2 separate regions of the Homo sapiens genome follow, and region 1 is linked to region 2. The links are contacts of gene promoters, found by promoter capture Hi-C in blood cells and fetal thymus (Javierre and others, 2016). All regions are on one chromosome and are shown on one strand. Each heading gives the region's core, a stretch centred on a gene start or on the middle of the fragment in contact. The rest is flanking DNA. Distances are from core to core; before and after follow the strand shown. Region 1 overlaps LOC399975 (a long non-coding RNA gene). Region 2 holds the start of APLP2 (amyloid beta precursor like protein 2).

Region 1 (5,764 bases), core at 1,356-3,855, 790 kb after region 2:
CCCAAGCAGAATGCTTGGGATGCAGTTTAATAGTCATCTTTTAGGAAATAGAATTTGGATAATTATAATTTTGATCTGAATGCAGAGTTACAATCTGTCTTTAAAATGCTTGGGGCACTGCGTGATGCTACATGGCTAGCTGGCAGCTGGGCCATAGCATTGTTGTCAGCATCTCTTTTATTTTCTATTCTTTCAGAGTTTTATTTGGCACAGATTTAGACCTTTTAAGTCAGTCTGAATGGGGATAACTTTTCTGATACATTGGTTGCTTTTGTAAACATTGTCTATGTTTGTATTTCTATTGGAAGAAGAAAAAGCAAATGGTGCTGGAGTGCGGTGGCTCTTAAGAGTCTCCACAGTTTGCTAGTTTGAATCAGTGACTGGATTTGTTGTAATATTTTTGAGTATTTATGGTTGTGACTCAATATATCCTTCCTTATTGGATACATTGAAGTCTAACTGAGAATCGATATTTGTTCCTTGGACTTGAGTGTGAAGGAAAGAGAAGCTTTAATTACTACTACAACATGACCTCAAAGTTTTTCAAGTACTCAATGTTGTGTTTTCTTTTTAATGGGGCTGTTTGTGAAGATGAGGCATTAGGATGTTGTGATTTCCATTTTCAGGAATGTCTGGAGTCTGAGTCATTCTTGGAATTGGATATATGGTGATGCTTCATAGAGCAGGTGTCTCTATGGAAATGTCAGGTTGGAATTGTGTTTAAGCCAGTTATCTTCGTACCGTGGTCCCTATAGCAGTCCGTGTATAAAGCAGCACTTTGGACAGAGACTTGTCTGGACACAGCTAAGGTGGAAGCCCAGTTTACTGTATGATCGTTCACATTGAGGTGGGTGACAGGGTGAAGTAGTGGGGGAGAAAAACATAAGTGGGACAGAGAGGAAATGTTAGTTGGAAGAACCTTCTCCAGTTATGTAACTGTTTTGTTTTCTAGGGAGAGACTAAGAACCAGCAAGACAGGCTCAACTGTCTTCTTTAGAGCCTTTGATGTTGGTTTGAATTCCAGTAGTTATGTTCCTTCTGTGTTCATTTCCTAACCTCCGTATCATTTTCCAGTCACCAAAAGCTTTTCTGAAGTTGGCCTGCGACACTAATGGCAATACATTCATCTCTACTTTCTCTCTCTCTCGGTGCTATATAAACGATGTTTTTATTGTTGCTTGTTCTCTCTTGACTTATTCAAGTGTTTTCCTTCCCAAGCTGACCTGAGTATATTATCTGCACACTGTATGTTGATCGTAGACGCATGTAATAAATGTTAAGGACTAGGCATCTGTTTTCTTCATAAGGCTGTGGTAGCAGAAGAATGAAACAAAAAGGAACTTAACATAGTTGAACTTTTAAAGAGTAAGACTAATATTCTTGAGAATTTTTCGGATTTAACCCATGATTGTGAAGTCCAATGTCCATGGAAGTAGTCAGGAGGCAGCAAGGACTTGAAGTTAGGTTGTGGTTGCAGTTCTGCCCCATAGTAGCTGTGTGACAGCGTACCTTCCTTGGACAAGTTATTTACATTTCTGAGCTTGTTTGCATTTTATAAAATAGGGATCAGAAGGCTTGCATTGTTTTTCTTACAGAGCTGTGAAGGATCAGATGATAGAAAGGATATGAAAATGCTCTGCAGAACTGTTTTTAAATATGTAAAGTATTGTCATTACGTATAAACTTAGTTACTAACCTATGTTACCTGGTAAATTGGCCTAGCAAACTCTTTTAAATGTTGTAACAGAAATTTAAAAAACATGCATATAAAGGCTGGGCAGGGTGGCTTACACCTCTAATCAAATGCTTTGGCAGGCAGAGGTGGGAGGATCCCTTGAGGCCAGGAGTTTGAGACCAGTCTGGGCAGCATAGAGAGGCCCAGTCTTTACAGAAAATCAAATAAAAACCATTAGCTGAGTGTAGTGGCACACACCTGTAGTCCTGGCTACTCGGGAGGTTGAGATGGAAGGATCACTTGAGCCCAGGAATTAGGGGTTACAGTGAGCTATCATTGTGCCACTGCCCTTGAGCCTGGTCAACAGAGTGAGATCCTGTCTCAAAACAACAACAACAACAACAAAAACAGATAAGGAATGAGAACGTGTTAGATTTCTTCTAGTTCCAAAATTCTGTGCTCTGTCTTATTTAGAAAATCCACCGGTAGTACTTGCAATTTTGAACTCTCTGGAATTTTCAATTACTTGGAGACAGATCAAATTTATTGAGACTGTGAGCTACTGCTGCTGCTGCTTTTTAAAATTTAATAGAGTCAGGGTCATGCTATGTTGCACAGGCTGGCCTCCAAATTCTGGGCTGAAGCGATCTTCCTGCGTTGCCCTCCTGAGCAGCTGGGACTACTGGCCTGTGCCAAGGCTGGACAAGACTTTGAACTTCTTTAAAGTATCAGTTCACAATACCAAAGGAGGTTACAAGTTAATGATTTGTAAGAACTGTTTAGTAAAAAATATTTTAAATTTGTCTGCATTATTTAGGGAAGGGATGGGCAAACTGTAGCCTGCAGGCCATATCTGGCCCATGGCTAAGAATGATTTTTATATTTTTAAATGGTTGAAAACAATCCAAAGAAGGATAAAATTTCATGTCATGAGAATGATATAAAACGCAAATGTCAGTGTCCTTCAGTAAAGTTTTGTAGGAACACAGTCGTTCATTCTTGGGTCTGTGGCTACTTTGGCAGTGCAGCAGCAGAGTGGAGTACTTTCATAGCTCGGCCTGCAGAGCCTCAAGTATTTATTATCTGGTTCTTTAAAAGAAAAGTTTTCCAACCCCCGATTTAGGACTTAACTTTTTTTTTTACTTTAATTAGCATATGTGCTATTTCCTATCATAGCCATTATAAGGTTAAGAATCCTGGAAAGGTACTAATTTTTGTTTTGGAGCCAGATAGACTTGAGTTCACATACCAGCTATGATATTTATAAACATTGATCCTGGACAAACTAATTAATGTCGTGGGACCTCAGAGATTTCCTTTGTGACCAGGGAATATCAGTAGTATCTACCTTGGAAGGTTGTAGTGAGGATTAAATGAAATGGTACATATTAAGGCTTAACACAATCTCTGACATACAGTAAGCACTCAGTAAGTGATAGATGATGATGATTAGAAACTCTAACCTGAAAGTATGCCTAAAATATTTTATATTACCATCACCTCCAGATTATAGAGTTATTTTCCTGAGTGTTATGCTGTTTGCTATAGAATTTTCTCCTTTGCTGAAACTTAGTTAACAGCTGATAAGCGGAATAACTTGAGAAATTTCCTGTATGCTGTAGTGTATTTTTATTAATCACTTGCTGACTTCAGATCATTAAGAATGGGTGGAAAGATACTTCTGTTTTTTATAGATCCTGATTCTTGATAATTTCCCGATAATGTTCTTAAGTTTATAAATTGGATTTAAATACCACTTCTATTTTGGTACTGGTACTGGCTTTTTTTTTTTTTTAGAAAGATGAATGAGAAAAGTCGGTTTTGATTAGGCCAGGGTTGGATAATTTTCCCCATATGTATATGTACTCTAAAGTCTTCCTTATGATTTGCATTAACATCTTTATGGCATGCTTCTCAGAGTTGAAATAATAAAAGCTAATTTTTTTTTTCTAAATAGATCTAGTTTACTATCCAGAGACTTTTATATTACACTGCTTTTTGAAGTATTTGATTTAAATTATCTTACAGTTGAGAAATTTGGTGTGCCTCTCAACTTCAAATGCTGGTTTATTAACATTAATCTCAAACTAAGAGTGAGCAAATAAAAAAGGCCATTGTTCTGAGTTAAACAAAATAGAATTGGGGTCATTGTGGCTCTTGCAGTTCTACAAACTGTACAGTTTCTTGGCCTTAGCTGATGCTTCAGTGAAGTGAGATGATCCAGAGGAGACAGGGGAGGGCACTGATGTTCCCACGCTGTCCTCGGTGGAACAGTGAGATGGAGGCAGAAGGGCTCTTCCACAAAACCAGGGAACAGCACCTGGAAAGGTGTTCTGATTATAGCACCTCAAAAAAAGTAGACCTAAAGAAGATGAGATGCGACAGAGTTTTCTCTTGAGGTTAAAAAACAAACCAAACCAGACGTTTCCTATCTGGAGAGATGAAGCTTGAGCAGGAATATTCCCCAAGGTAGTAAAGTGTAAGGATTTTATAAAGTAGATATTTTCAGTTTTACTGGACAAGGGAGGGCTAGTCTTGTATTTAAAGGAGATTGTTGTAGGACAAGTAAGAGGAAGTGAGAAATGGGTGTTTGGTTTAATTTCTCATGAGAAAAACATGAATCTGAATGTTCAGAATAGAAGTAAAATTCTGGCTTTCAAAACACAGTTGTTTTTTTTTTTTTGCTTCCGGCTATGTATCTATTTACTATTTTATTTTATATCCTGGATTATAATATACATAATATTGGAGGCTGTGGAGATGGAAAGCATTGAGAGGAAAAGCATGTGTGAACCATTCATTATGGAAATGTTATGTCCAATTTGTCTCTGTTTGAAAAGATAAGCATCATACTCTAGGAGAGAATCTTCTAGAAAATTCTATCAGTTTGCCCTAAAAATAGTAAAATCCTTATTTGGATTTCAGCCTTGTGATGTGAAGCAAGCCATTTGACTCCACTGCTTTTATTCCCTGTGTGTAGCATGGAAACAGTAATTCCTGTTCCTCCTTTCATTGGAGAAATATAGGTGGTTGAAGGACTCTTAAGATGAGTAGCATCTTCAGTAGCTGTGCAGAATATATCATGTGAAGTTCAGTAATTACCCAGGATATCAAACACAGACCAAAAAAGTGAAGCAACTTTTAACAGGAAAATGAGTTTTGAACCTGGAGTCAAGAGGACCTGGATGTTTGTCTTGGCTCTGTTGTAAACAGCTTGTGACTTTGGACAAGTAATTTCTGTCTCCAAAGGTCCAGTTTCCATTGACCTACCTAAGGAGAATCTGACAGACCTTCCTTCTTGTTTTATATTCAGTGGCCCTCCAGATTAAGTAGGAATAGCAATCCTGACACAGTAGGATAAGGGAAACCACATCTCTTTGTATCTGTGAACTGACAAGTATCCACTGAGTACATCTGTGTGTCTCCTGCCATGCTTCAAGCAGTGGAAGATAGATAGGTAAGAAGGTGTCATTGAGTCTTTGCCCTCAGGAGGTGTTCATTTCATGGGGAGACAAACTATTTTATGAAAAGGAATATTATAAGTAAGCAAGGAGATAGTGGAATGATCTGGCAGTTTGAGGACTTGTGATGTACTATTGGAGAGGATACTTTGTAGCCTTGTGACCTTGAACATGTAAAATGGGCTTTGTAGACTCCCTCCAACTCTGAAATTTGGTCATTCTGTCTTTGATGGAGAAGCAGCAGCTCTGAATCAACCTGTTGGTAGACAACCCAAGTAAGAACTGCTCAATTAAAGCCAGATTTTTACACACATTCTGCGTAATTGATTTAGTAGATGGAAGGAAAGGTTTACTTTAATTTACTAGAAATGCAATCAACGGATAACCCTTCTGAAAAATAAAGCGTGCGAGAAGTGACAAGAGACCAAAGTGAGCTTGTTCCTGAGGCAGTACATTTGTGCCTGGATCTCATTTCTTCTTGCCTACAGGTCTTCTATTCTAGCAGTTTTCTTTCCTAAGATATCATTCTCTCTTTACTGAATCCTCTTTCAGTTAGCATCCATGCCTTTTGTTACTTGCAGCAGTGATAGCTAGTTGTCTACCCAATGCCATTCTCTGTGGCTTCCTT
Region 2 (5,861 bases), core at 3,276-5,775:
TATGGTGAAACCCTGTCTCTACTAAAAATATAAAAATGAGCCAGGCATGGTGGTGGGCTCCTGTAGTCCCAGCTACTCTGGAGGCTGAGGCAGGAGAGTCGCTTGAACCTGAAAAACGGAGGTTGCAGTAAGCCGAGATCATGCCAGTGCACTCCAGCCTGGGCGACAGAGTGAGACTCCAACTCAAAAAAGAAAAACAAAACAACAACAACAACAACAAAACATGTTTTCAAATGCTATAAAGAACATGATTGGGTCAACAAACTAACTAGAAAACCGACAGCAGATAAGATCCAAGTATTGTATCAATGTTAAATTTCATTAGGTTGATGGCTGTACTAAGCCTATGTAAGACAATGTCTTTGGCTCTTAGAAAATATATACTGAAGTTCTCAGGGGTAAAGGGGATGGGGGACGACGTATGCAACTTACTCTCAAATAATTTGGCAAAAAATGCAGTAGTAAAGCAAATGTGACTAGAAGAAATGTTAACAATTGGTGAATCTGAGTAAAGGGTAAGAAAATTGTACAATTTTTGCATTTTTTATAAGATTAAAGTTATTTCTTTTTTTTATTCTTGTTTTCTTGAGATGGAGTCTCGCTCTGTTGCCCAGGCTGGAGTGCAGTGGTGTGATCTCGGCTCACTGTAACCTCCACCTCCCAGATTCTCCTGCCTCAGCCTCCTGAGTAGCTGGGATTACAGGCGCACGCCATCTCGCCCAGCTAATTTTTGTATTTTTAGTAGAGACGGAGTTTCACCATGTTGCTCAGGCTGGTCTCGAACTCCTGACCTCGTGATCCACCCACCTCGGCCTCCCAAAGTGCTAGGATTACAGGCGTGAGCCACCGCGCCTGGTGATTAAAGTTATTTCTAAGTAAAACATTTTTAATTGAAAAAGTTTAAAAATCAACACATTCAAAATTGTTCTAACAAAAATACTTAAGAGCATGTTGGGCCAACTTCCAGCAAGACTTTATGTGGAAAAATATAGGAACATATTAAAAAATTCTGCTAATAAAAACATATGCAGGACCAACTTTAAGCAAAATTTTAAATCAGCACCATCTAACAGAAATACAATGTGAGCCACATACATAGTATTAAATTTTCTAGGAACCATATTAGAGTGAAAAGAAACAAGTGAAATTAATTTTAATGTTTTATTTAGCCCATGTCTAAAGTATTGTTTCAATTTAGTCAATACAAAAATTGAGATTTTAATTCTTCTGTATTAAATCTTCAAAATCTGATGTGTATGTTACACTTCCAGTACATCTCAATTCAGAAGCTAAATTTTCATAGGAAATACTTGATCTACATTTAGATTTCATAAAATGTACAGTTTAAAAGTAAATTCGCATAACCAAATTATTTCAGTTAAAAGTTTTCCAACCACTGAATCAGATTTTAAATGTAAACTTAAATTAATTAAAATTAAATAAAATGAAAAATTCACTCCTCATTCACACTAGTCACCCTACAGACTCAATAACCACATGTGGCTTGTGGCTACACCCTGGGAAAGCCTGGCTTTAGATGGTAAAACAAATTCCCTCTACAAAAGGAGGAACTAATTGATAAAACTGAAGTTTATCGTATTTATCAAAAGATTTTTAAAACATAGTTATGATAAAAATAACGGGCCGGGCGCTGTGGCTCACGCCTGTAATCCCAGCACTTTGGGAGGCCGAGGCAGGTGGATCACCTGAGATCAGGTGTTCCAGACCAGCCTGGCCAACATGGTGAAACCCTGTCTCTACTAAAAATACAAAAATTAGCTGGGCGTGGTGGCAGGCGCCTGCAATCCCAGCTACTTGGGAGTCTGAGGCAGGAGAATCGCTTGAACTCGGAAGGCGGAAGTTGCAGTGAGCCCAGAGATCCCACCATTGCACTCCAGCCTGGGACAGAGCGAGACTCCGTATCAAAAAAAAAAAAAAAAAAAAGACGATATTCCTATCAGAAGCACACCAAGGTTTCTCTCCAAGGTACAATTACACATCTCCCATACCACCTGTCAGAAACACCAACACAAAGCCTTCTCTACTCTGCCTCAGTTGACATCCTTTAATTTGGGTTTGAGTTTCCAGAAAACTGGCAATCAAATGGCCTTCTTTCTTTCAAATGTGACAGAACAAACTCAAGTTCCGGTTCTCAGGAGCCTAGTCATCCACTGCACAGTATGCGGGGTTTCAGCACAATACTGTCTCAGTCCCAAATGGGAGCATGCACACAGGAGAACTTGTCTCGGATTTAAGAGAGGAAGTGACCCTGAGTCCAGAGGTGAGCTTTTTCTTTTTAAACAGGTGTAAGAGATTAATTCAGTCAACACCAAGCAACACTAAAGATTTGCCAATCAATAATTCTGTGCCAAGCAACTTGATCAGGGATTTGGCCAGAATCCCTTTCGCTAATCTCAATCAGGGCCTTCCCAAAGACATCCTGATTTAGGCCACTCTCATCTAAATTAAGCTTCGACAGTCCCTTGCCTGACAGCAAATAAACAAAATCAAATTATATTCATATGAATAAAATTCTGATAGCTTGACAAAAGGCCCCTTGAAAGATCATTTAGTAAGTGTGAGCAAAAATACAGCTCCAAAGAACAGGAGTTACCATAAAACCATTTTTCAGAAATGTTTAATTCCTACTTTCTTCAACCATACTTTTCAACTGAACAACGCTGTGGCTAACAATCAAATTTAACACACAACAATGAATTCTCATATTATTTTTTCCCGCTACACAAGTATTAACGAATTCTTTAAAACTGCTGAGTCTTCTACTGTGAATTCACTAATGCCTCAAATTAGTCATAGCAGTGGGAAGTGGAGTGCGAGTGTGAACGATGGTTTCTGACACCCGACCCACTAGTGAAGTCCCATCTTCCATACGAAAGCCTTTATTTTTTCTTCCCATCTCACTCACCTAGCTGTTTTCATGCGACATATCAGGGATCACAGATACAACTCTGACCATTGTGTGGACACACTGAAACAATCGCAATCCAAAATCCTCTGTAGATAAACGTTAACTATTTCTCTTTAAAGCTGAACTCCTTTCTTACCCTCACAGTCACAAAGCTTTAAACTGGATGAATACAAAGGTGTTAAGCCGTTCCATCAGAGAGGCTTTTTATTAGATTTATTTTTACCCGTGGAAATACTTGAACATTCTGTAGAAGTAAATATATTCTAAACCTGAGGTCTTTAAAAGAAAGCTCTCAATTAATGCCCAATCAAATCCAGTCTTCAGGTCTCTCTGAAATTAGCTAAGTATGCAGAAACCAGTTGTAATTTTTAAAAGAGCGAAGAGGGAGAAGAAATAAACGACACCAGAACTACACATTCCAGACCAGCAGTTCAAGCACCACTTCGAGAAGGGAAGTAAAGATCAAGCTCGCCGTCTCCCTCGGCCACAGCAGGGCTCCTCCAAGGCTGCCCGCTCCGGCCCGCACCGCGGACCCCGCCGCCCCCGCCCCCTCCCGCGGCCTCCCCAACCCCCGGCCCTGCCGCTTCGCCTTTCTCGCAGCGGGGATGCTCAGGGTGCGACCTCGAAGCACAACCACTGATGGAATTCTGACACCCGAAGAGGACGATTTTTCCAACAGTTTACACGCCTTCGCGGGCACCTTCCCTACTCACTGAAACCCTCACGAAAGCGGTCAACGCACCCAGAGCGGGTTTCCTCGGTCTACGGACGCAGGCAAACAGCGCCACTTAAAAAATGCGCGTCCGCGACCCGGCCCCAGGCGGCAGAGGGAGCAGCGGGCGGCCTGGCGCGGGAGCTCCCCCGGGGCTCGCAGCATCCCTGCCGCGCGCGAAGGCCGGGGCCGCGTCCACCTGGCAACAAAGGCGAAGCCCGCCGCTCGCAGGTGGGAGGCCCGGAGCCGAGGCCCCGGTGCCGCGCGAGGGAGCGTACGGGGTCCGCGCGGGGCCGCCCCTGGAGAAAGCCCAGCCGCGGACTCCGGCGGGAGAGGAGCGCCCTGGCATTGTCCCGGGGGAGGGCGGGGCGGGCGCCCGGGGGCACTGGGTCCCCGGAGGAGGTGGCGGCGCCGCGGGCGGGTTGGGGGCTGGGTCGGCCGAGGCGGACGGCCGCCCCCAGCAGCCCCGACGCCTTTCATTTGGCCTCTGCGGCGGCTGAGGCAGCCCGACCTCCAGCGCTAAGCACTGCGCCAAGCAGGGACGGGCGGGGGAGGGCGCGCCAGACCCGCCGCAGAGCCGGACCCCCGGCGCCGCACCGCCGGCCCGCCCTGCCGCGGACCCCGCTGCCCGCCCGCAGTCCGCGCTCCTCCGGCGGGCGAAGGAGACGACTCTCCGGCGTTCGCCCGGTCCCCACCTCGATGTAGCCGGCCAGCGCCAAGGCAGGCGCCGTGAGCCCCACCAGCAGCAGAAGCAGGAGCCTGCCCGTGGCTGCGGCGGCCGCGGTCCCGGTGGCCGCCATCCCTCGCCGGGTCGCTCTAGCGCGCGGCTCTCAAGCTCACACACTCGGACTCCTCGCTTAGCACACCGCGACCCAGAAGCATCTAAAGCCAGTTCGCCGCCGCCCCGGGGGTTTTACACCAACCGGAACTGACTTCATATTACCACGCCCTCCTTCTGCGGCTCCCAATGCCGGCCCGCAGAACCCCTCAAGACCCCGCCCCCTTGCGGTCCAGACCCAATCAGGAGATGGAAGAGCCTGCTCCTCCCGCCCGGTCCAACCGCGCGCCCCCCGCCCGGCCCCGCCCCCGGCCGCGGATGGCCCCGCCCCCGCTCCGGACCCTGTGGCCGCCAGGCGCGGGGGCGTGCGCGCGGCGGGTCTGGGGCCGCAACCCTGTGGGCGCGGGGCTGGCTCTGGCCTCCGCCCCCCGGCGCGGTTATCTGTCCCTGCTGCGCTGGTCCGTCAGCCTTCAGCCTCCCGATACGGGCACGCCCCGCTCCCCTGCCCCTGCTGGGCATTCTTCAGACTCCTTTGGGTACCGCCCTCTTTTTGATTCTGGAAATGGTTTTATTAAAAACAGGATGAATTAGGAGTCCGGGACGGTCTGCCAAGGGCCGTCCCCCGAGGCAGGGGGAGGACCGCAGGAGGCAGCCATCGTCCTCCCCCGAGCCCTACTCAGGGCGCGCCTCTCCCGCCCTGCTCCGCCCAGGCCTCTCCGCCGGGTCCTCGCCTCTGAGTCCGGCCGCGCTCCGCACCCTTGGCCTCCGGTCTTTAGGCCTCTTGCCGACCCTTCCTTCCCAGCAGTTGCCCAGGCAGGGATAGAGACCAGGGGTGCAAGAACCACGCCGGCCTCACAGCCCAGGCCCCCTTCCTCGTGTGTTTTAGGAAGAGATCACGCCGCTTCTTCGGTTGAGACGCACTAGCGGGAGACCTGCTACTCTGCCTTCCTGCTCCGCGGCATTGCCACTTCAGTAGAGAAAAACGTCCTGCTGCCCCATTTAGCAATTGGCACAGCCTCGCCACCGCCAGGGCTCCGCTGGCCTTGTTTCCTTTCAGTCGCCTGTGAGTTAGGTACTGCCTTCTGAGAGACCTGGACTAGTCCCTTCAGGTTCAACTAAATGCATAACACAACCCTACCCCCAGGACGCTGACAATAGAAAGGAAGAGACTGTCCGCGGAGTAGACGAGTGCGCCTGTAAGAACTCGGGATTTTCCAGCCTTATTCTGCACCACTCTCCCCTACATGCCCAGTTCCCTGTGGGTAAACTGGCTCTGCCCGATTCCTCCAAGACGACACCTTTCCATTTCACAGCCCTTCCTAACACTCTTCTGCGCCTGCAATGTCCTCTCCCCAACATCTGCCTGTTGGAAGCGTTTTCACTGTTCCTCGGCTCAGTCGGCTGAAATATCGCTTCTGATTGCTCAGAGGGATGTTTCCCAC

Evidence for each region. The method cuts DNA at HindIII sites, captures the fragments that hold promoters and counts their contacts. A CHiCAGO score of 5 or more calls a contact.
Region 1: a contact is called between a fragment that was not itself captured here and the fragment with the promoter of APLP2 in region 2, in 1 of 17 cell types (fetal thymus). The highest score is 5.9, in fetal thymus.

The regions. Positions count from the first base shown.
Region 1 is chr11:129,272,613-129,278,376 of GRCh38, reverse strand. All of the region lies in intron 1 of LOC399975 (a long non-coding RNA gene), which reads left to right. It also overlaps a transcript of ARHGAP32 not described here. Among named protein-coding and RNA genes, the nearest start is that of ARHGAP32, 83 kb to the right of the region's middle. The HindIII fragment of the contact is 3,037 bases long and covers 1,087-4,123 here.
Region 2 is chr11:130,068,558-130,074,418 of GRCh38, reverse strand. APLP2 (amyloid beta precursor like protein 2) reads right to left here and starts at 4,525. Exons shown (of 17, transcript NM_001142276.2): 1 at 4,337-4,525. The coding sequence starts at 4,441. It overlaps LOC107984432 (a long non-coding RNA gene), which reads left to right and starts at 4,770. Exons shown (of 2, transcript XR_001748444.2): 1 at 4,770-4,955; 2 at 5,306-5,861. RefSeq lists silencers at 3,637-4,096, 4,167-4,296, 4,687-4,916 and enhancers at 4,833-5,333, 5,334-5,834. The HindIII fragment of the contact is 4,769 bases long and covers 3,084-5,861 here.